Linked DNA regions of Homo sapiens: all the other regions are linked to region 1. Evidence: promoter capture Hi-C in 16 types of primary human blood cells and fetal thymus (Javierre and others, 2016). All regions are on one chromosome and are shown on one strand. The core of a region is centred on a gene start or on the middle of the fragment in contact, and the rest is flanking DNA. Distances in the headings are between cores, read along the strand shown.

Region 1 (3,138 bases), core at 436-2,935:
ATATTCTGCACTAGACAACAAAGTCCTTTAAGTCAGGTACTATATCTATTTACATAGCATTCACATCTCCTACAATAAGGGACATTAGCAGATAAACAACACATATTAAATGAATAATGAAGTTTCTGAAATACTACAGTTGAAAACTATAGGAGCTACATTATATAGAATAAACATTTACTTTGCTATAGAATTCAGTGTAACCCAGGCATTATTTTATCCTCAAGTCTTAGGTTGGTTGGAGAAAGATAACAAAAAGAAACATGATTGTGCAGAAACAGACAAACCTTTTTGGAAAGCATTTGAAAATGGCATTCCCCCTCCACAGTGTGTTCACAGTGTGGGCAAATTCACTGCTCTGTCGTACTTTCTGAAAATGAAGAACTGTTACACCAAGGTGAATTATTTATAAATTATGTACTTGCCCAGAAGCGAACAGACTTTTACTATCATAAGAACCCTTCCTTGGTGCTCTTTATCTACAGAATCCAAGACCTTTCAAGAAAGGTCTTGGATTCTTTTCTTCAGGACACTAGGACATAAAGCCACCTTTTTATGATTTGTTGAAATTTCTCACTCCATCCCTTTTGCTAGTGATCATGGGTCCTCAGAGGTCAGACTTGGTGTCCTTGGATAAAGAGCATGAAGCAACAGTGGCTGAACCAGAGTTGGAACCCAGATGCTCTTTCCACTAAGCATACAACTTTCCATTAGATAACACCTCCCTCCCACCCCAACCAAGCAGCTCCAGTGCACCACTTTCTGGAGCATAAACATACCTTAACTTTACAACTTGAGTGGCCTTGAATACTGTTCCTATCTGGAATGTGCTGTTCTCTTTCATCTTCCTCTATTGAAGCCCTCCTATTCCTCAATGCCTTGCTCCAACTGCCTTTGGAAGATTCTGCTCTTATGCCTCCACTGGAATTAATGTCTTAGTACCACTTGTCTATTCTGCTATATAGTCAGTCCTTACATTGCTTTCTTCTTCTGATAGACCAAACTCTTTAAGGACAAGTACCTAGTCTTATCTATTTCTAGATCCCCCACATTACTCAGAAAGTTACTCCATAAATGTTTGTGGAACTGATTTCTATGTGAAGCACATGTGCCCCTTCACTCTGTTAACATGCATTAGAAAACTAAATCTTTTGAAAAGTTGTAGTATGCCCCCTAAGAGCAGTAACAGTTCCTAGAAACTCTCTAAAATGCTTAGAAAAAGATTTATTTTAAATTACCTCCCCAATAAAATGATTGGCTGGCTTATCTTCACCATCATGATAGCATCTGTAATTAACTGAAAAAAAATAATTATGCCATTAAAAGAAAATCATCCATGATCTTGTTCTAACACCTGCCACTCTAGTACTATATCTGTCACATGGTACTATGATAAAGTTATCTAGAAATAAAAAAGCATACAATTGATAATTCACCAAATTGTGGAGCTTCAGTATTTTAAATGTATATTAAAATTAAATTATTTTAAAGATCAAAGAAAACTTTCGTCATACTCCGTATTTGATAAGGAACAAATAGGAAGTGTGATGACTCAGGTTTGCCCTGAGGGGATGGGCCATCAGTTGCAAATCGTGGAATTTCCTCTGACATAATGAAAAGATGAGGGTGCATAAGTTCTCTAGTAGGGTGATGATATAAAAAGCCACCGGAGCACTCCATAAGGCACAAACTTTCAGAGACAGCAGAGCACACAAGCTTCTAGGACAAGAGCCAGGAAGAAACCACCGGAAGGAACCATCTCACTGTGTGTAAACATGACTTCCAAGCTGGCCGTGGCTCTCTTGGCAGCCTTCCTGATTTCTGCAGCTCTGTGTGAAGGTAAGCACATCTTTCTGACCTACAGCGTTTTCCTATGTCTAAATGTGATCCTTAGATAGCAAAGCTATTCTTGATGCTTTGGTAACAAACATCCTTTTTATTCAGAAACAGAATATAATCTTAGCAGTCAATTAATGTTAAATTGAAGATTTAGAAAAAACTATATATAACACTTAGGAAAGTATAAAGTTTGATCAATATAGATATTCTGCTTTTATAATTTATACCATGTAGCATGCATATATTTAACGTAAATAAGTAATTTATAGTATGTCCTATTGAGAACCACGGTTACCTATATTATGTATTAATATTGAGTTGAGCAAGGTAACTCAGACAATTCCACTCCTTGTAGTATTTCATTGACAAGCCTCAGATTTGTCATTAATTCCTGTCTGGTTTAAAGATACCCTGATTATAGACCAGGCATGTATAACTTATTTATATATTTCTGTTAATTCTTTCTGAAGGCAATTTCTATGCTGGAGAGTCTTAGCTTGCCTACTATAAATAACACTGTGGTATCACAGAGGATTATGCAATATTGACCAGATAAAAATACCATGAAGATGTTGATATTGTACAAAAAGAACTCTAACTCTTTATATAGGAAGTCGTTCAATGTTGTCAGTTATGACTGTTTTTTAAAACAAAGAACTAACTGAGGTCAAGGGCTAGGAGAATATTCAGGAATGAGTTCACTAGAAACATGATGCCTTCCATAGTCTCCAAATAATCATATTGGAATTAGAAAGGAAGTAGCTGGCAGAGCTGTGCCTGTTGATAAAATCAATCCTTAATCACTTTTTCCCCCAACAGGTGCAGTTTTGCCAAGGAGTGCTAAAGAACTTAGATGTCAGTGCATAAAGACATACTCCAAACCTTTCCACCCCAAATTTATCAAAGAACTGAGAGTGATTGAGAGTGGACCACACTGCGCCAACACAGAAATTATGTAAGTACTTTAAAAAAGATTAGATATTTTGTTTTAGCAAACTTAAAATTAAGGAAGGTGGAAATATTTAGGAAAGTTCCAGGTGTTAGGATTACAGTAGTAAATGAAACAAAACAAAATAAAAATATTTGTCTACATGACATTTAAATATGGTAGCTTCCACAACTACTATAAATGTTATTTTGGACTTAGACTTTATGCCTGACTTAAGGAATCATGATTTGAATGCAAAAACTAAATATTAATCTGAACCATTTCTTTCTTATTTCAGTGTAAAGCTTTCTGATGGAAGAGAGCTCTGTCTGGACCCCAAGGAAAACTGGGTGCAGAGGGTTGTGGAGAAG
Region 2 (3,138 bases), core at 185-2,684, 420 kb after region 1:
TGAAAAGGTATTTTACTTTTTATTGATTTGCAGATGTAATTTCTAGTAAAATTACTTCAAGATGTGAATAGGGTACTTGGGGTATGAAACAAATTTTTTTAAAGAGGTCATAAACTTAACACTTGCAGGTATTCATTTATTTTAATAACACACTTCAAAAGACTCCCTATACTGGTGATTGGTTTTATTCCCTATGGAATTTTGCCCTGTTTTTGGGGGGTTTCATTTCTATTGTACAAACTCAAGACATCGAAGATATGCCCTAAGATATAAAGCAATTAAACTGTATGTTAGGGCCTGGGTAGAGCTTGGAATTGTTAATCATTCTATTAGGATTTTTCGTCTTTTTTTGTTTGTTTGTTTTGTTTTTTGTTTGAGGCAGAGTCTTGCTCTGTCACCCAGGCTGGAGTGCAATAGCACGATCTTGGCTCACTGCAAACTCTGCCTCCCGGGTTCATGCCATTCTCCTGCCTCAGTCTCCCAAGTAGCTGGGACTACAGGCGCCCGCCACCACGCCCGGCTAATTTTTTGTATTTTTAGTAGGGACGGGGTTTCACCGTGTTAGCCAGGATGCGTCTTGATCTCCTGACTTCGTGATCCGCCCGCCTCAGCCTCCCAAAGTGCTGGGATTACAGGCGTGAGCCACCATGCCTGGCCAGGTTTTTTCAACATTATAGAGATAAAATGGTTCATTGCAGCTCTAGTTGAAGTCGTGAATAAAGATGAGATTGAAACTAAGATATGGATTTGCCAAGTATACGAATTAAATAAACTCTTGATCTTGACTAGGTTTTATTTGTTGGTAAGCTACTTTTTTGTGGAAGAGTATTTTGATACATAGAAATAATCCTCCCCCTTTGTTATTTTGCTCTAGTTTATTAAATAAATCATTTGATTCTAATAAGCGTAGATAAGGTGGTTAGTTTATTTTCTGGAAGTACAAGTAAACAAGCCCATGGAAACAGCACTAAGTGCTGAAGACTTTCTGCTCTCATAATGTTTCTGGTTATCGAAATATGTCTCCATCTGTAATTTAGCAGAAACTAAGAGAAAGAGCCACTTTTGCAAACCAGCCCATGAACTTTTAGCCAAATCCTCTTATGTAATGTAAGGTCAACAAGAGAGTATTCCCATTATATAGATGAAGAAATTGCATGCCGTTGAGAGAAGCTAAGTGACTTGCCTAACTTTATTATTGCTACTAATGGTAACCCAGAGCTCTGATGCTCAGGACTTCTAATTTCAGGTGAGTAGTTTGTACTACATAGTGCTGCCCTGCTACTCACTAGCCACCACCTCCCTTCTTTAATTTTTGCCTCCTGATGAAGCCACATTTCGTGGCTAGCCCAGCAGTAGGCTGGGCTTTTGGAAGGGAGGGCACCTTTTCTTGCCTTTAGGGGAAGGTCATTTCTGCCTTTGTGGGAAACCACCTGAGCAAGTAATGACAGGGCACATCATGTAAACAATATCTAAGGGGTCAAATGGATTTTATTTTTGATATGCATTAATGGCAAGGTCACTATGTAATTTTTTTGGCCAAACTAGCACATTTTTTAGAGTAAAAAGGGGCACGAATGTAATGAAAATTATATATTTGGAATATCTATTGGCTTACAAATATATTAGTGAACTTATAGAATAGTTTCAGACCATTTTCAAAATTAACATTTTAAAAGATAATTTATATCCTTATGTGTTAAAATAAAAATTTATATTACATGAACATTCAGCATGAACAATTATTCCTGGTGCATATTCACATGCTTGAATCAGTTTCTTAGCTGTATCTTTTAACACCTTGATCCTGATAATTTTCTGAAAAAAGTTAATAAGATCTTATGCTTTGTTTATTTTTTTTGAGACAGAGTCTTTCTCTGTCACCCAGGCTGAGTGCAATGGTGTGATCTTGGCTCACTGCAACCTCCGCCTCCTGGGTTCAAGTGATTCTCCTGCCTCAACCTCCCGAGTAGCTGGGACTACAGGTGCATGCCACCACGCCCAGCTAATTTTTCTATTTTTAGTAGAGACGGGGTTTCACCATATTGGTCAGGCTGGTCTTGAACTCCTGACCTCGTGATCCACCCGCCTCGGCCCCTCAAAGTGCTGGAATTACAGGCGTGAGCCACTAGGCCCGGCCCTTGTGCTTAATTTTAAAATTAAATTTTCTGCAATTTTCTTAACAGTTGCAAATAGAATCTTTGCTTTAGACAATGGTTATTTTAGTTTTAAAGGTACTGTCTCTATAGATGCTGAAACACCACATAAACTGCTAAATGGAACAGTCTTAATTCTACATTTTGCACATTGAAATGGGAAGATATTTTAGCCTAAATATTTTCACAGGTGCTATGTTGGTGTATCTTTTCAAAGTACTTTTCTTTGACAAATATTTAGATAAAAGAAATAAGTTGTTTTTGTGTATGATTTTAAAAATAGTTTACCATATTTAGATAGGGGAAAATTAAAGTTTTTCTCAATTGTATTCCAATGTTTTACAAAATGGTAATTTATTCCAGGAAATTTTATTCAACAAAAAATATGAGTTCCATCAGAAGATTATTCTCAGACATTGAACTATTTAAAATTGCTATTATAGATGTATTTATTTACTAATTCTGCTGTATACAAAGTTCCACAAACTAGCTAGCTTGAAACAGCAGAAATCTGTTTTCACACTGGAAACAGTGGAAGGAGGCTGGAAGTCTGAAATCAAAGTATCTGTAGGCCCACACTCTGTCGACTAGCTTCTGGTTATTGCCAGCAGTCCTTGGTGTTCCTAAGGAGTTTGCAGCTGCATAACTCCAGTCTTTGCCTCTGTTGTTAAATGGTTGTCTTCCCTCTCTGTCTTCACTTCCCTTTTTATGTGTCTCTGTGTCTTCTCTTGTAAGGACAGAAATTAAAATTACTTGTGCATTGTTTGAGCTATGATTTTTTAAATTAGTTTACTTCTTCCCTTCCTTTTGAAGAGATAAGGTTTCTGTTTGTAAGCTTTGGTTTCACTGATTACAATTCACTAAAAACTTTAAATCTGAAGGTGTCCCTACTCCCATTTGGTCTGTTTGTTGAATATGTTGATTAATAATGACCAACAACTTTTGAAAAAAATGCAACAAGTGTTGCCCATCCCAGTGCCAGGCC
Region 3 (3,138 bases), core at 359-2,858, 330 kb after region 1:
CTGTAAGCAACTGCCATTAGCCATCCCTAAAAGCACATCCTAGCTGTTACACACCAAGGCTAAAAGTTTTCCAAAAATGCAAAGTAATCTCTGACACCCCTAAAAGTCAAAAGGTCGGGTAACAATGTAAAATAGAGCAAAGCTTTAGATTTTTGAGAGAAACCTATCTGCTTACAATTCCTAGAGTTCCATGAGGATAAAACAGAGGGTTTTCCCAAAACTGGGTCTGTGGCTCCTCCTCGGTTTTTCCCAAGAAGTCCCAGGCTGTCGGAAATTACCTTAGATCCTCTCTTGTGGGCATCAGCAGTGGAAAGAAGAAAGACTGGAGAAACGATTCTGATGATTGAGAGGAAACAAAAATGATTGTTCTCAAAAGAACAAGATGTAAGAAAAGAATAAGCATAAAGGCTGTTAAAACATACGTATAGCTTGGATATAGATTTTTAATGAAGCTGACTTTGAACCATAGGAACCTTTGTTTTTTTCCAAATCTTTAAAAAAAAAAATTTCACCAGCATCTCCAGGATTGTATCATCTTAGCACACTCTGAGCCAGGGGTGAACATTCCAGGGTTTAAGAAAACAACAAGATTCAATTATAAAAATTAATAATAATACAATGATAAATCCTTAGCAAATAACCAATACAAGGATAGCCACAAAATATCATACATGATGAAATCTTGAAAGTAATCCCTTTAAAGGCCAAAACAAGAAAAGAGTGTATATTATTATTGCAGACATCTCAGCAAAGCTAAAGAGATAAATAAAAGGCATAAGTTTTCCAAAAAAGGAAACTAAACTGTCATTATCCTCAGGTGATATGACTACTCTAGTTAAATGTTGGTTACAAAACTACTACAAAATTTTATGTTTAAACACTAATAGATGGAAAGTTATATTTTATAAAGATACCCTTTACAATAACATCAAACAATATAGAGTGGCAAGAAATCTTTTTTTATAATAAAAAATATGGAATGACTTTATGGAGAAAATCATGAAACTTTAAAGACATTAAATAAGGCCTCAACAAATTGGCAGTTAGTTTGTATTCTTAAAATGGAAAACTCAGCAGGATAAAGATGTCAATAATTTAAAAATTAATTTATAACTTCAAAGAAATTCCATTCAAAATTATAATTTAATTCAGTGCAAATTTGCAAGCTATTTCTTAGATTTATATGAAAGAGCAGAAGTCTAAGAAAAGACAGGCTACTCTTGAACAACATGAAAGAATTTTCCATCCCAGATATTAAAAATTATTATAAAATATTAATAATGAAGACTGTGTATATGTATAGACAAATTGATCAATGGGACAGAAAAGAGACATTAGAAACATTCCTTCACTTGCAGGACTTCAGTTGCAAAACTCAATTTATGGCAGAAATAGCATTGTCGATCAGTAGGGAAATGATGTTTTATTAAATAGGGCTGTAACAATTAATGAGTCATGTGGAAAAATAAAATAAAATTGGATAATTCCATCACATAATACAAAAATAGATTCCATAAACAGTCATGTCTTAAACACAAAGAAAAAATTATGAAAACTTTAGAAGATAATATAGAAGAATATTTTTATGAACTGTAAAGGGAAGTTTTTTTTTCTTTTTGAAAGAAGACACCAAAGTTGCTAATCAGAAAAGAGCATATTGCTAAATTCAAGTAGAATAATAATACAAACTTACGTTCACTGGAGACACTATAAAAAGAAAGACTATATGAGTTGTAAATTGGAAAACTAGTTTTTTACTTATAAAATTGACAAGGTTCTAACATCCAGAATATATAAAGAACACCTGTGTGCCAATGGGAACAAGATAATATACAAATAAGAAAAGTAAAAAAAAGAATACAAATTTTACAAAATAGAGAACACAAATGCTCCTAAGCATATAAAAATATTCAATCTAATTAATAATAAAGAGATGAAAATTAAAAGAATAGCATGGTACCATTACATACTCATCAGATTGACAATACTAGGTAGTGACCAGTATGTGCAACAACAGATAATTTTATGCAGGAAGTAGTGTCAATTGGTACAGCTTCTTTGTGATACCACATGGCATTAACTGGTAAGATTTATGACATGCAAAGCCTAAACACAGCAAGTAATTCCTAGAGAAACTCTTACATAACATGAACCAGGAAACACATAAAGAATGTCAGCAATAGTCAAAATCTGAAAAGAACTCAAGTGCGCTCCAACAAAGGATTGGATAAATGAATTTTGCATTTACTTACTTCATATTCCTACAGTGGAATTACTAAAATTAAATGAACAGCTAAACATATCGAAATCATGGGTTGCAAAACATAATGTTAAATAATAGAATCAAGTCACAGAACAATACATTCAGCATTATTCCATTGATCTGAAGTTTAAGAGCAGGCAAAATACATAATTGTTTAAGGATTCATACCTAGATGGTAAAACTACAAAGAAAAGCAAGAAACAACACAATTCAAAATAGTGATTAATTCTTGGAAAGGGATGGGTCTATGATTTGAGAGATGTATTTGTTTGTTATGTCTGCCATAATAGTATACCACATACTGGGTGGCTTAAACAACAGAAGTATATTTTCTCACAGTTCTGAAGGCTGAACATCCAAGGTTAAGGTCCTGGAAGGTTTGGTTTCTCCTAAGACCTCCCTTCCTGGCTTGCAGATGGCTATCTTCTCACTGTCTTCACATGGTTACCCCACAGTCTGTGTGTTGTCTGTGCTCTAATTTCTTTTTAGGAAGACACCAGTCAAATTGAATTCAGGACCATGCTAATGAACTCCACTTAACCTGGTTACCTCTGTAAAGACTTCATTTCCACATACAGTCTTATTCTGAGGTACTAGGGATTAGGGATTCAACATATGAATTTAGGAAATGCACAGTTCAGCCTATAACAAGAGGTTCATACACAGAGGCTTCTGGTGTATTAGTTAGTTCTAAAATTTAGCCTGCATAACAAGAGAGTGGGTGTTTACTATATTACTGCTCTCCAAACTATATATATGTAATCGTCTTCTCTTTTGTATTTGTGGCAGGCAGAATCCTAAAACAAGCCCATCAAGCTTCCCACCCACTTCCCTAGGAGTGTGAATATGATGAGATATTACAAACATCATTACGT
Region 4 (3,138 bases), core at 215-2,714, 310 kb after region 1:
TGGCTTTACTGGCAAGGTGAGTTTCACGTAAGCAGTATATAGCTGAATCATGTTTTTTAAATTTATTCTGCCATTCTATATATTTTAAGAGCAGAATTTAATCCATTTATGTTCAAGGTTGTTATTGATATATGAGGCTATGTTCCTGTCATATTGTTAACTATTTTTTGCTTGTTTTATATATTCTTTGTTCCTTTCTTTTTGTCTTATAGTTTTCTCTTGTGGATTGGTGGATTTCTGTAGTGTTATCATTTGCATCCTTTCCCTTCCTCTTGTGTATGATTGCTTCACCAGTGAGTTTTATAGTTTAGTGTGTTTTCATGATGGTAAATGTCACCCTTTCACTTCTAGCTTTAGAATTCCTTTGAGTATTTCTTTCAGAGCTAGTCTAGTGGTAATGAAATCCTTCAGCATTTGTTTCTCTGTGAATGACTTTATCTCACCTTCATTTATAAAGGAAAATTTTGCTAGATGTAGTATTCTTGGGTGGAAGATTTTTTCCTCCAACATTTTGAGTATATCTTCCCATTCTCTTCTGATGTGGAAGTATTATGTTGAGAAATCCACTGTTAGTCTGATGGGGTTTTCTTTATAGGTAGCTGAACACTTTTCTCTTGCTGTTTCTAGAATTTGTTTTTAACTTTGACTTTAGACACCCATAGGGAAAACCTGTTTGCATTTTATCTGTCTGGGCACATTGAACCACCTGAATCTGAATGTCTAAATCTCTTGCTAGATTTGGAAATTTTCATCTATTTTTGCATTGAATAGATTTTCTAATCTTTTCTTTGTTTCTTCACCCTCAGGTATACTGATAATTTGTTTATTTTTTCATTTTATATTGTCTCAAATATCACAAAGCCTTTGCTCTTTCTTTATTATGTTTTCTTTATTTTTATCTAACTGAATTATTTCAAAAGGCCTGTCTTCAAATTTTAACATTTTTTCTTCTGCTTGAGCTAGCCTATTATTGACACTTTTAAACGTATTTTATATTTCCTTTAATGAATTCTTAAGTTCTAAGCTTTTTATTTGGTTTGTATTAAAAATATCTACCTTTTCAGTAAATTTATCATTTGCATTCTGATTTTTAAAAATTTATTTCTATTGTCTTTCAGAATTCTCGAAAATATCACTGAGTATCCTTAAAAAATCAATATTTTGAATTCCTTATTTGGAACTTTGAAAATTTCTTTTTGATCAAGATATATGCTAGAGAATTAATGTTTTCCTTTTGAGGTGTTATATTTTCTTGCTTTTTTATGTTTCCTGTATCCTTATATTGATTTCTGGGTATGTGGTATAAAAGGAAATTTTCCTATTTTGGAATTTTCTTTAGTAGGGGATAACTTTTTTCTGAAGATGTATTTATGGTGTTTGGTGGGTCAAGTACTTTGGCTTTGATTCTGGGTGCATGGAGTACCATAGTCTGTGTGATTACTTTGGCTGTAAACATCATTAGTTGTATCTGTAATGTCCCCTATACTACACTAGGTGTACAATAGGTTATACCATCTAGATTTATGTAAGTGCATACTACGGTGTTCGAACAATGACAAAATCACCTAATGAGGCATTTCTCAGAATGTAGTCCTATTATTAAGTACTGCATTTTTGAGCATCTGCATCCAACCCAATAGCTGTTGCGGAACTTGCAAGTGGTGGAGCCAGGTTAGCCCATTATTCTGACTGGAGAGGATGTGCTTTTAGCTGGGTCATAACTATCTCATAAAATTGTTTATTCCTGCATGCAAAACACTTTATATGCTTGGCATATTAAAAGTGATTAATAAATTTGAACTATTATCATGCTATATAAAGAATGATACAGATCATAACTTGTGAATTTTGTTGGCCATATTGTGAAATACCAAAGTGTGAAACAAAACGAGAAGGGAAGAAGTAAAGCTTTTATCCACAGCAATTATGTTCAAATTAATAATATATAACAACAAATAAATAGAAATTGTTATTCTTATGTTAATACTTTTGTAGTAACAAAATTAATTTTGTTAATGAAAATTTTGTAGGTATAAATTTTAGGGGTTAAGAAATGAATGGAAATTTTGTTGATTAAAAAAAGAATTAGTAGTCTAGTAAAGGTTAAGTTCTACATTGTACTTACTTACAAGGTCAATACTAATGCTAGAATTGTAACCATGTAGATGTTAACTAAATGCTAATATATACAAACATGTCAGGGTAAAACATTTAACCTCAAGAATTTTTTTTCCTTTCTTTCTTTCTTGTTTCAAAAAATATCACAGGTTTTTTAATGGGATACATTAATTCATTTCCATCATCTATTTTTTATTCTACCAGGGGTAAATATATACACTTTAAAGTAAAAAAGCAGAGTTCACAAGACTTACATTCTACAACTTTATTATTTTTAGGGTTTGAAGGCTAAAACAAACATCAGAAGAAACTTTCAGAAGATGTTTTAAGCAAGACATAATAGCACTAAGACACTAAAAGACCCTATTAAGTTCCTGAACATACTAACAAAAATTTATTGAGCAAGTATTTTGCGCTGGGCTCTGTGTGATTCCTAATATCATTAACCATTATTAAATCTGTTTATTATCATCAGCATGTCTAGTCTTACAGTAGAGTGGGGTTGGAAAAATCAACAAAGATGTGTTTCAATAGAAATTTTCAAATAAATAAAGGGAAAGTGCACTACAATGTTTAGCCAAGGATTGGGGGTAAAACATATATTATATATTGAAGCATGGCTTGCTTATTTTCACCTTCTTTCTGTTATCTTTTATCCAGCATTCTCAGAATAAAATGAGATTTTTGAAACAGAATAGAACTTAGATCAAAATTTTAATACAGTAAGAATAAGTATCCTGGATAAATAAGAATCTGAGAAAGTCAAGACTTCAAAATCCTCCCCTTCCAGTGAAAAGCGTTAGCAGAAAGTTAACAAATTAACCAGATGAATTCATCAACTTTCAACATTTTCTGTACAATTTTATTGATTCTGGGAGCATCTGGGTCCAGGCAGATTTTTTCTCCCATCTTACAGAGTGGCTCTGCAAGAGAGAATAGAATTATCTGTGGGTGTCCTGGCCTGAATATCAGAAAGGATCTGTGAGACTGGAGGAAATGAATGCAGATGGGGATGGAGGT
Region 5 (3,138 bases), core at 443-2,942, 290 kb after region 1:
GCAGTTAGACCTGCAGTGAGACTGGTTATTAAAGAGAATTTTTGGACTCTAGGATCCAGGTTTATCTCATCTACACAGCAGTCAAATAAAGTAATGCTACTCTCTATTTCAAAGGGTTGTTATGATGAATGTGTCAATATTTATAAAACACCAATATATTTCATAAGGAAATGAAATAATTCCCATTTTCAGTAAGCCAATTTGAGTTGGTTTTTTTAACTGTCTGTACTGACTGCTTGAGTTATCTTTCTAACCAGAAGGGCATTTCAACTTGAATTTAATTCCTCTCTTCATTTGATTCAGCATTTGTATTGATCATTTTCCCAGCATTGTAACATAGGAATGAAATTAGGTGCCATAGATACAAAGACAATTAATATAGAATCTGCTACCTTCTAACTCTCAACACAATACAGGAGATGAATGTACAAATAGAAGATTTTAGAAGGGCCTGGTAAATACCATGACAAACTATGCACAAAGTATTAGGAGTAAGGATGAATATCTCATACAACTCTTATGGGTTAATGAGTGGGTTTCTGAGAGGTGTTACAGAGGTTTTCCTACAAGAAATCGTTACTTATGTGAGTTTTAAAGGATGGAGAGTTTTCCAAGTAGATGGGACAACACTGAGGAATGGAAAACGCTCCAGTAGGAGACAACCAAGTAATCAAAGGCATGAAGATTGGAAAGTCCATGGAAGTCCTAGAAGCAGCAAGTGACTCAGGTAGATGGAGTTCATCCTGTGGGCAGGGAGAGGAGAGCAAGTGAGGCAGGAGGGGCGATCAGGATTCCACATGGGAGGCCATGTGCCTGTAGGATCCTGCTTCTCTGTCAGTTTGGATGTTACCATAGCTGTGCAGCTTTTACGTGTGTCTCATGGTGCTTCCATGTCCCTTGTGGACAGATTCCTTTATTGACTATCTACCACAGGGAGAGTGGGAAGGCAAGAGTAACCTATAGGTTCAATGTATGTGTAGAAAATGAGGAATGGTGGATATTAAATTCAAAAGACATTTACTAGATGCATACAACACAAAAGGGATTGTGGTGAGTTTTGTAAAAGATAGTGGATAAAGCCAAAACTTAAACATGAAATTCTTCTTTGATTCTTAACTTGCACACTTCCTTCTGCAACATTGCTAGTCTTCTAATTCTGCAGTAAAGACATACTGATGATTTCAACAAACTATAATTATTTAACTTTATTGGAAATAACACCAAACACCATCTAATATATAGATGTGAACATCATTCCAAAACTTTTAAAAATTAGCTTTTAGTATAAGCTTTATATTTGCCTTTTCTTGAGATTGTTGTTTAAACTTTTGTGGAAGGTATTGAGTAATTAAATTACATTATGCTCATATCATGTAATCCAAGAAATATAGGAATGCCAAAATTACAAAAGAATATGTCAGAAAAAATACAGGAAATAAGCAAACATCTCTATGGAAACATTTTTATCATACTAGATGATTATATTGGTCATCATGATGACTCTGGTATTATGGAAGCACAATGTAGGAAGTTGAGATGAGTTATAAACCACAGCAAACATATCACACACAGTGTATGAATACATAGTTCAACTAAGACAGTTACAAATCATCCTAAAAAACTTTGATGATCAGAAAAGGTCTTCTGTAATGTTTTAACATTTTGAAATGTATTGATACATTTTTTATGACTCATCTATGTTCTCTTTGGAAAGACAAATGTGATTTATGCAATTGCTGGGTAAATTGCCAATATATGTCAGTCAAACCAAGTTGGTTGCTTATGTTGCTTAACACTTCTATACTGCTACTAAATTTGTGCTGCTTTACATATTAAGTGTTGAAAGAGTTTGTTAGAATCTGTAACTATGATTATATATCTGTCTATTGCTCTTTTTTGATCTCTTCATTTTGCTTTATGTGTGTGTGTGAATTTTTTTTTTCTTTAGAGACAAGGCCTTGCTCTGTCACCCAGGCTGCAGTGCGGTGGCATGATCATAGCTCACTGCAGCTTCAGACTCATGGGCTCAGTTGATTCTCCCACCTCAGCCTCACAAATAGTTTATATAATTTGATAATGTGTTTCTAAGTTCATAAAAGCTTAGGAATGTTTTGTCTCTTGTTTAGTTAACCCCTTTTTATTTTTAACAGTCTTTTTTATCTCCAAGACTATTTCTTTCCTTAAGGCATAATATATTAATTAGGCCTTCATTAGTATATCAATTTTTAATAAATATAATTTATATGAATAGCATATTAATAGTTAAGTAATAAATATATTAATATATCCAGGTCAGGTTTCAATATAGTAATATATCCATGTCAGCCCATTTGTATGTGATATAACACTATTAATTCTTTTAATTTCAAGCAACCTGGTGCCCAATTTGTTTTTACTTTTATTGTATTTTTATAATTGACACATAATTACTGTGCATATTGATGGGGTACATAGTAATGTTTCTATATATAATGTATAGTGAAGAGATCAGGGTAATTAGCATATCCGTCATTTCAAATATTTATCATTTATTTGTGTGGGAACATTTGATATCCTTCTAGCTGTTTGAAACTATTACTTTTAACTATAGGCATCCTACAGTGGTATAAAACACTAGAATTTGTTCCTCCTATCTAGATATAATTTAAAGTGTGTCTCTTTTAAGAAGCATAAACATGTCATATTTATGTAGTCTGATAATCTTTGACTTTTAATTGGAGTGTTTATTCTGCTTAAATTTACTATAATTCTTAATATAGTTGTATCTAAGTCTACTATCTGCTATTATATTTGTCCTATCTTTTGAAAAATAAACTTTTAAATTTGGAATAATTTTAGACTCACAAAAAATTTGTGTGGGCACAGAGAGTTTCTATATCTGACCTTTAGCTCAGTGTCCCGTAATGTTGACATCTTACATACTTGTAGTATATTTGACAAAACTAAGAAATTAACATTGGTACATTGCTGTTAACTAAACTCTTGTCTTTATTCAGATTTCATCAATTTTCCAATAATGTCCTTTTTTCTATTCCAGGATCCAATTCAACATACCACATTGTATTTAGTCCCCATATCACTTTTGTCTCCTTTAATCTGTGACAATTTATTGATTTTGTCTTGTTTTTCATGACCTTG
Region 6 (3,138 bases), core at 175-2,674, 280 kb after region 1:
GATTCTATCTGGGAATAGTGATGTCTGAGATGGAGATATGTTTGGCTCTTCTCTCCTCCTCTGTGCCTAAAATATCATTATGAGCCCAAAATACACAAAATCTTAAACCTAGCACATTTTAGAGACTGTAAGAAGCTAGGTGGACATTTGGTATGTGACATGTTATTAAGTTAAAAAGTCAGTTATTTCCTAGAAATGACACATGAATTTATATTCTCATTGTTTTCTAATGCCTTAGTTTCCAGGTGGTTGAAACCAAGTTCCCCCAGTTATGTCTGATTCATCGGAACCCAGGAATGCACCACCTGGAGATCACCTGCTGCGGTAGTGTGTTTCGTCCTTGCCTCCATCCTGCCCTTTCATCACCATTCCTTGCCTCAGTGTCTAGGTCAACACTCCCTTGTGTTTAGGATTGAACAGCCCCAGAGGCTTGTCCTCCTCATTTATTCTCAAAGAAACCTCATTCATTTCATTCTTTCTCCTCTTTTTATCACCAAAAGGCCTATCCGGGGAGTGAATCCTCTCAGCTGCAAGTCTGGGACGGGACTTCATCCTACTAGAGCCCTAGCTGATTGCTTGATAGTTCTTTGGTTTACACCACAGTTGACATCCATAACAGGAAGTGAGGTTAGGCCTTTTTCTCTGTGGATGTACATACTTAGAGGGAGCCTTTCCAAGGTGTTCACTCCACCCTTCTTTTCTCTTTCTGAGCAAAATCTTTCCCTAGAGTCCCATATCAGATATGATGTAAACCTTGAATTTTACAGTGAAATGTTTGCTTCAAATTTAACCATGATACTGATCTGCTTCAGTGTCTGACTTAAAGATTCATTTGTTACTGGTCAATGCATCTAACATTGAGTTTTACGGAAAACCCCTGATACTTAATGACAGAGGTAAGAATGAGCTGCCTGTTGATTTGCAGTATGAGGTGTTAGAGTGCCAAATATGAGATCTCCAGTAAAAACAATATTAATGCCCAATTATGCATTTCCATGACTGAGATCAGCCATTTCTCAGAGAAGTTTTACTAATCTGGCTACTTTAGCTCTGTTGATACCTGTGATACAAATCATAGTATTTAACATTTTGGTAAATACTGAAATTGTGAATTCGCTCCAAATCCATTCAGGCATGTTTATGAATCATAGAAGCTCTCTAAACAGTATGATTGGATGTGAGCTAATATTTAGGAGATTTACCGACCTATTAAAAGTATGTAAGTATATTGGAGAAGTGGGGAAAAATAGAAACAAGAGAGAAAATGCATTACAATTTGTTCTAACAGAATTTTTGATCTCTTCACTCCAAGTATTGTGAGTGAATGTAAAAATATAATTCAATATCTACAAAATGCTATAATTCATCTGTTGTGTCTCCAAATGCCAGGGTTGTAAACAGATTTCTCACTTGTGCCTTTCTTTGTCATTTGATAGCCATGTTGACTAAAGTGAGTTGCTTCCCTCTGGCAATCATTGCTGATGTTGAATAAACTTGTTCTTAACCTTTGTTATGCTGCTGGGACACACAACACTGGATAATGGCATAAAAGACTAACAGGATGTGGTATAACTTGACGCACTAAATCCTCTGCTAAATCACACTTTTTGTTTTACTCAACTGTCTTCCTCTTTTCATTTGGCATTTCATCTGATTAATCTTACCTCTGTTCATGAAATATAAAGGTCTAGCTAGGTCAACACTAGAAAGATTATAGTTGTTGGTATTGTACTTGCCCTTTACTCTAAATAAGTATTTTAACAGACAAGAAAGCTCTTCCTTATCTAAACATTTGTGGCAGAATAAGCTCAATGTCTTGAGTTTTCTAAATCTCTTTTTTTCTTTTTCTCTCATAATTCCACACTAGCCCACTGCACCTTATCATATATAATAACAACTAATATTTCATGACAACTACTTTGTTCCAAGTGTGTTTTATGAATTATATTTACCTAATCCTCCCAACAGCTATTTTTGCCCATTTTTCTGGATAAGATTATAGAGTTTAAGAGAGGTTGAGTGACTTGGCTGAAGTCACGCAGGAAATTGATGGAGCTGGAATTCAAAACCAGGCCATCTGACAGCAGAGCCCATACAGGTAACCACTGCCTGCTATTCTTCATTGCTTCTCCTAAGGTTGGCTTTGCATGTCCACAGCTTCACCTACCAAGAAGAGGGATGGGAATTTGATCTTTTTCCAATGACAAGCAGACATGTCAGAGAAGCCACTGTGCACTTTCCAGCATCCTGCCACCCATCTGGTTCTCTGTGCCAAGCTCGTCCACCATCTCCTTTCTCTGTATACCATTCAATCATTCCTCAAAACTTTTTTTGAGTTTCTACTAATACCCAGCAATGCTAAAGACACTGAAGATATAGCTATAAGCCAAAGATTTTCTCTTGATGAGTAATTATTTTATTAGAGCTGACAATTGACAAATAAGAAAAAAAAGATTGTGTGTGTGGATGTATATAGGTTTACATATGTATTTTATATAGAGTGATCTGAGAAAGACTCTAACACAATGATATTTGAGCAAAACCCTTAAAGAAGTAAAGGAAAAATTATGCAGCTCTGGAAAAAAAATATTCCAGGCATAGAGAAAAACAGGTTCAAATATTCCAAGGCAGGAGTTTGCTTGGTATATTTAAGTAGCAATGTGGCTGAGCGGTATTAACAAGTAGTCAGGGACTGTAATATTGGAGGGTTGTGCCTTACAGGGTGTGATGAGAACTTTCGGTTTTCTTTAAGTGACATAAAATGCCATTTGGGGGATTTTTAACAAAAGAGTAAAATGATTTTTCTTTCTCTTTGAAAGTTTTTCATATGCTGTGTGAAAAAATAGAAAAAAGGAAAGCAGAGAAAGATAAAGAGAGGACAGAGTAGCCCGAGTGTAGTGGTGCACACCTGTAATTCCATCACTTTTGGAGACTGAGGCGGGCTGATCGCCTGAGGTCAGGAGTTCGAGACCAGCCTAGCAACATGGTGAAACCCCACATCTACTAAAAATACAAAAATTAGCTGGATGTGGTGGTGCATGCCTGTAGTCCCAGCTACTCAGGAGGCTGAGGCATGAGAATCACTTGAACCTGGGTGGCGAAGGTTGCAGTGGGCTGAGATCGCATCACTGCATTCCA
Region 7 (3,138 bases), core at 249-2,748, 260 kb after region 1:
TTTTGTTTTGTTTTTAACATTCCAAGCTCTCTCTGGTCCCCTATCCAAGGAGAAATGCTAGGGCCTCGAGGATGTCGCTATATATTTTTATAACTAAATGATAAATTTATATTCAAATTGTTTGAATACGTTTCCAAAACTTTCAGAGTACAAGTCATTGTTAAGTTTGCCTTTACTTTAAAAACTAAAAGAATACATTTCTATATAAACTAGCAGTCAGGAATTTGCCTGTTTTCTAGCTTCTTCATCTATCTAAAATATATATTTAGCTACCAGAATTATGGTACTCCTAATAAAATACTTAATAAATAGCATATAAAATCAAAGTTTAAAAGTAAATGATGGCAGTTTGCCATACTAAAAAGATAAAGAATGTCTAAAATTATAGGAAGATAAGATATTAGCCCTCATAGAACTTAAACTTTTAGAAATTCTGAATAAGGAAATATATTCTACATAGATAAGGTGTGAAACACTCAGCTTTCTAAAGTGAAATAATTAAATAGTATCCCACAATCAAGAGTAAGGAAATTCTCTAACATATTCCCCAAGAAACATTAAAATATTTCCTATTTCTTATAAAAGTGAAGATAACAGTGTATTTCCATCAACAGAATTCTTATGAAACATCATTTCCACATTAAATCCACAGCCTTCTCAGTTAATATCTTAAGGAATATTTCTTGGAAATATAATAGTCACCTACAATTCAAGACACTTTGAAAGATTAACAGCCAGTGATTCCTGGCTCACACTATAGTCAATTGCCAAAACTTCAATAGCATAGCAGATAAAATAACAGCAAATAGCAGAGGTACTATGCTAAACACTTCATTAGCTGAGCTGAAAGCTTAAGCGGCAAACATAGGTTTTCCTCACACTCTTCAAAGTGAGGAATCCAGGAAGAAAGCTAACTACTGGAAAAACAAATAAACAAACAACAACAAAATCTTTCCTTCTTGTCTTCCCTGGGTTCAGAGACCTCCAGAAAACTTCTCTGCTGAAGACTGGGAAACTTTTCCATGCGTGCTCATTTCTCTTAATCAGTTTTCCTTGTTTCCACTGTTGAGAAAAATGTTATATTAGTTTAACCATTTTTCACACTCCTTTCTACTCCACCCTTGTCAAAACTCAGCGTTTATGATGTTTGGTAAAAAAGGAGAATACAAAAATCAATAAAAGCAATGGGTAAACAAAAAACATAACTTAGTGACAAGCTGTGTGTAATTGCTCAAGTAATTACATGTAAGATTGGTATATTTTCCCAGGACAATCCAGAAAAACTTTCCCAATTCAACAACCTTTTAATTCTAAACATGAAAAGTGTTACTTAAATCGTACAGAGAATAAAGACCTTGTGAAGTCTATGGTCTCCCTAGATCAGATTTAGAAACCACAAAGATCAAAGTGACAAGTACCCGTCCAAAATTTTCTGGATGACTTTCTTTAGAAAAGGGGCTTCTGGATCAAGACAAATTTCCTTCCCGTTCTTCAGGGAGGCTCTGAAGGAAAGAAAAAGAAGATACACTCATGAGATACCAAGGTTGAAGACCCAGGCTGCGGGATTTCTCTCTTGCCAAGGTCACAGCGGACACAGCAGCACAGAACTTACACCACTTCCACCTTGGAGCACTGTGGGCCTATGGCGAACACTTGCAGATTACTGATCATTTTGGGATGAACTCCTTGCGTGGTCTGTAAACAAACGCAACGCAGCTCTCTCAACACAGCAGCGGCAGGACCAGCTGGGGAAGAAAGAGAGACACCCTTTATAGGGCAGGTTGCTGGGAGAGTTCCCTGGAACGCAGCGACCCCGCAGAGGCTGGGATGCACCTCTGTGCCCGAGTGCGAGTGCGTCCCGCGCGCCATGCGCTCTCACCGCTGGCGATGGGCCCTGGCTGCGTCAGCAGCAGCAGCAGCACCAACAGCGCGCACAAGGAGCTCGAAGGACCGGGGACACGGGCCGCGCGGCTGGACAGGAGGCTCATAGTGGTCAAGAGAGCGCTGCGAGCGGTCGCGGGTTCCTGAACTGGGTGGAGGAGCGGAGATTGGAGGAGCGAAGATTGGAGGATCCGGAGCACTGTGGCTTCCTCGTGCCTTCTGCACTCCTTTTATCTACACTCATCTCTCCCCACTGACAGGAAACTCAAGCTTTGGGATGCTGGGGAAATTCCCTGAACTCATGGGGCAGTGTGGAAAGAAGAGGTTGGGGGAGGGGGGCCAGACAATGGGAACTGGTGGGGAGGGTGGCCAGGAGGAGCTGCGTGCACCTCTACCGAGAGGGACGTTGTAACCCTGCTCCGCGGTGGAGGGAGCTGTGGCTCCAGCTAGAAGGGAGTAGCTATTCAGCAGGATTCAGCAGGGCCTCATGGCCTGTGCCAGAGCGGGCTAGGGATGCCGGCTTTTCTGAGGCACGCAGCCCTCTGGGAGATGCTCCTCCTCTCCTTCTAGAGAGAAAAGGTGGAACCAAAGTAACAGGAGCCTTGATTTGAGAAAAATTTCTGAAAGTCAATCCTTTCTAATTATTATTACTATTAATCAGGAAATGTTATTCATGTTTGAATTGCTATAAACTGAAAGTCCTTCCTGTCTTCCTTGCAGGCAGGTCATTCTAGGTTTCTTGAATGACTTTATGAATCTCTGGACTTCAACCAGCTTTGGAAGCCAAGATAACATGATAACAAGAGACCCTTGTCTCTTGCCACTTGAAGTCAGTGGCCTGAAAGGACCACTGAATTTTGTTAACTCCCCTACAGATCACCTACTTTGGTAAGTCCGCTTACTGAGAATTCTGTACTTGTAGTATATAGCAAGTATACGTGTGTCCAGGTAGTTAAACAAAAATCTTCCAAAATCACCCAGCAAATTGCCATGGAAGATACCTTGCTATTGGCAGTTGCTATGCTATTGAATTGGAAGAGGTTTTGGTCTTGTTGGGGGTGAGGTGTAGTATGGTGAGCGCAGGCTAAAGCTTGCCAGGGATCCCAGGCCTGCCCCAGCTCTGTTCCCAGCCCCAGATATGTATTTGACACCATTTGGAGATGCTGTGGGAGGCTGATGAGTTTGAAGGGCTCATGTGAAAGCTTCTTGTAGGGGTTTGTATCAATTTGGCAGCACAACAGCACCCAGTCTGTTTTC

What was found. The method cuts DNA at HindIII sites, captures the fragments that hold promoters and counts their contacts. A CHiCAGO score of 5 or more calls a contact.
Region 2: a fragment that was not itself captured here is called in contact with the fragment with the promoter of CXCL8 in region 1 in 3 of 17 cell types (monocytes, megakaryocytes and neutrophils); the score reaches 7.7 in monocytes.
Region 3: a fragment that was not itself captured here is called in contact with the fragment with the promoter of CXCL8 in region 1 in 6 of 17 cell types (neutrophils, monocytes, M2 macrophages and 3 more); the score reaches 10.1 in neutrophils.
Region 4: a contact is called between a fragment that was not itself captured here and the fragment with the promoter of CXCL8 in region 1, in 7 of 17 cell types (megakaryocytes, neutrophils, monocytes and 4 more). The highest score is 19.9, in megakaryocytes.
Region 5: a fragment that was not itself captured here is called in contact with the fragment with the promoter of CXCL8 in region 1 in 7 of 17 cell types (megakaryocytes, M1 macrophages, monocytes and 4 more); the score reaches 23.9 in megakaryocytes.
Region 6: a fragment that was not itself captured here is called in contact with the fragment with the promoter of CXCL8 in region 1 in 6 of 17 cell types (neutrophils, M1 macrophages, M0 macrophages and 3 more); the score reaches 14.5 in neutrophils.
Region 7: a fragment that was not itself captured here is called in contact with the fragment with the promoter of CXCL8 in region 1 in 3 of 17 cell types (megakaryocytes, neutrophils and M0 macrophages); the score reaches 12.0 in megakaryocytes.

What each region holds. Positions count from the first base shown.
Region 1 is chr4:73,738,884-73,742,021 of GRCh38, forward strand. CXCL8 (C-X-C motif chemokine ligand 8) reads left to right here and starts at 1,686. Exons shown (of 4, transcript NM_000584.4): 1 at 1,686-1,839; 2 at 2,659-2,794; 3 at 3,066-3,138. The coding sequence starts at 1,776. RefSeq lists a silencer at 149-443. The HindIII fragment of the contact is 2,023 bases long and covers 1-1,714 here.
Region 2 is chr4:74,163,519-74,166,656 of GRCh38, forward strand. The region is part of intron 1 of MTHFD2L (methylenetetrahydrofolate dehydrogenase (NADP+ dependent) 2 like); the gene reads left to right. Among named protein-coding and RNA genes, the nearest start is that of MTHFD2L, 7.0 kb to the left of the region's middle. RefSeq lists an enhancer at 1,268-1,397. The HindIII fragment of the contact is 3,104 bases long and covers 1-2,986 here.
Region 3 is chr4:74,070,884-74,074,021 of GRCh38, forward strand. No RefSeq gene overlaps it. Among named protein-coding and RNA genes, the nearest start is that of CXCL2, 27 kb to the right of the region's middle. The HindIII fragment of the contact is 2,937 bases long and covers 141-3,077 here.
Region 4 is chr4:74,051,092-74,054,229 of GRCh38, forward strand. It overlaps the pseudogene PPBPP2. Among named protein-coding and RNA genes, the nearest start is that of CXCL3, 14 kb to the left of the region's middle. The HindIII fragment of the contact is 884 bases long and covers 1,023-1,906 here.
Region 5 is chr4:74,032,314-74,035,451 of GRCh38, forward strand. No RefSeq gene overlaps it. Among named protein-coding and RNA genes, the nearest start is that of CXCL3, 4.8 kb to the right of the region's middle. The HindIII fragment of the contact is 810 bases long and covers 1,288-2,097 here.
Region 6 is chr4:74,014,710-74,017,847 of GRCh38, forward strand. No RefSeq gene overlaps it. Among named protein-coding and RNA genes, the nearest start is that of CXCL5, 18 kb to the left of the region's middle. The HindIII fragment of the contact is 4,022 bases long and covers 1-3,138 here.
Region 7 is chr4:73,996,594-73,999,731 of GRCh38, forward strand. CXCL5 (C-X-C motif chemokine ligand 5) reads right to left here and starts at 2,084. Exons shown (of 4, transcript NM_002994.5): 1 at 1,880-2,084; 2 at 1,613-1,745; 3 at 1,419-1,502; 4 at 1-1,062. The coding sequence starts at 1,988. The coding sequence ends at 1,044. LOC124900715 (a long non-coding RNA gene) reads left to right here and starts at 1,635. Exons shown (of 2, transcript XR_007058140.1): 1 at 1,635-2,769. The HindIII fragment of the contact is 1,301 bases long and covers 849-2,149 here.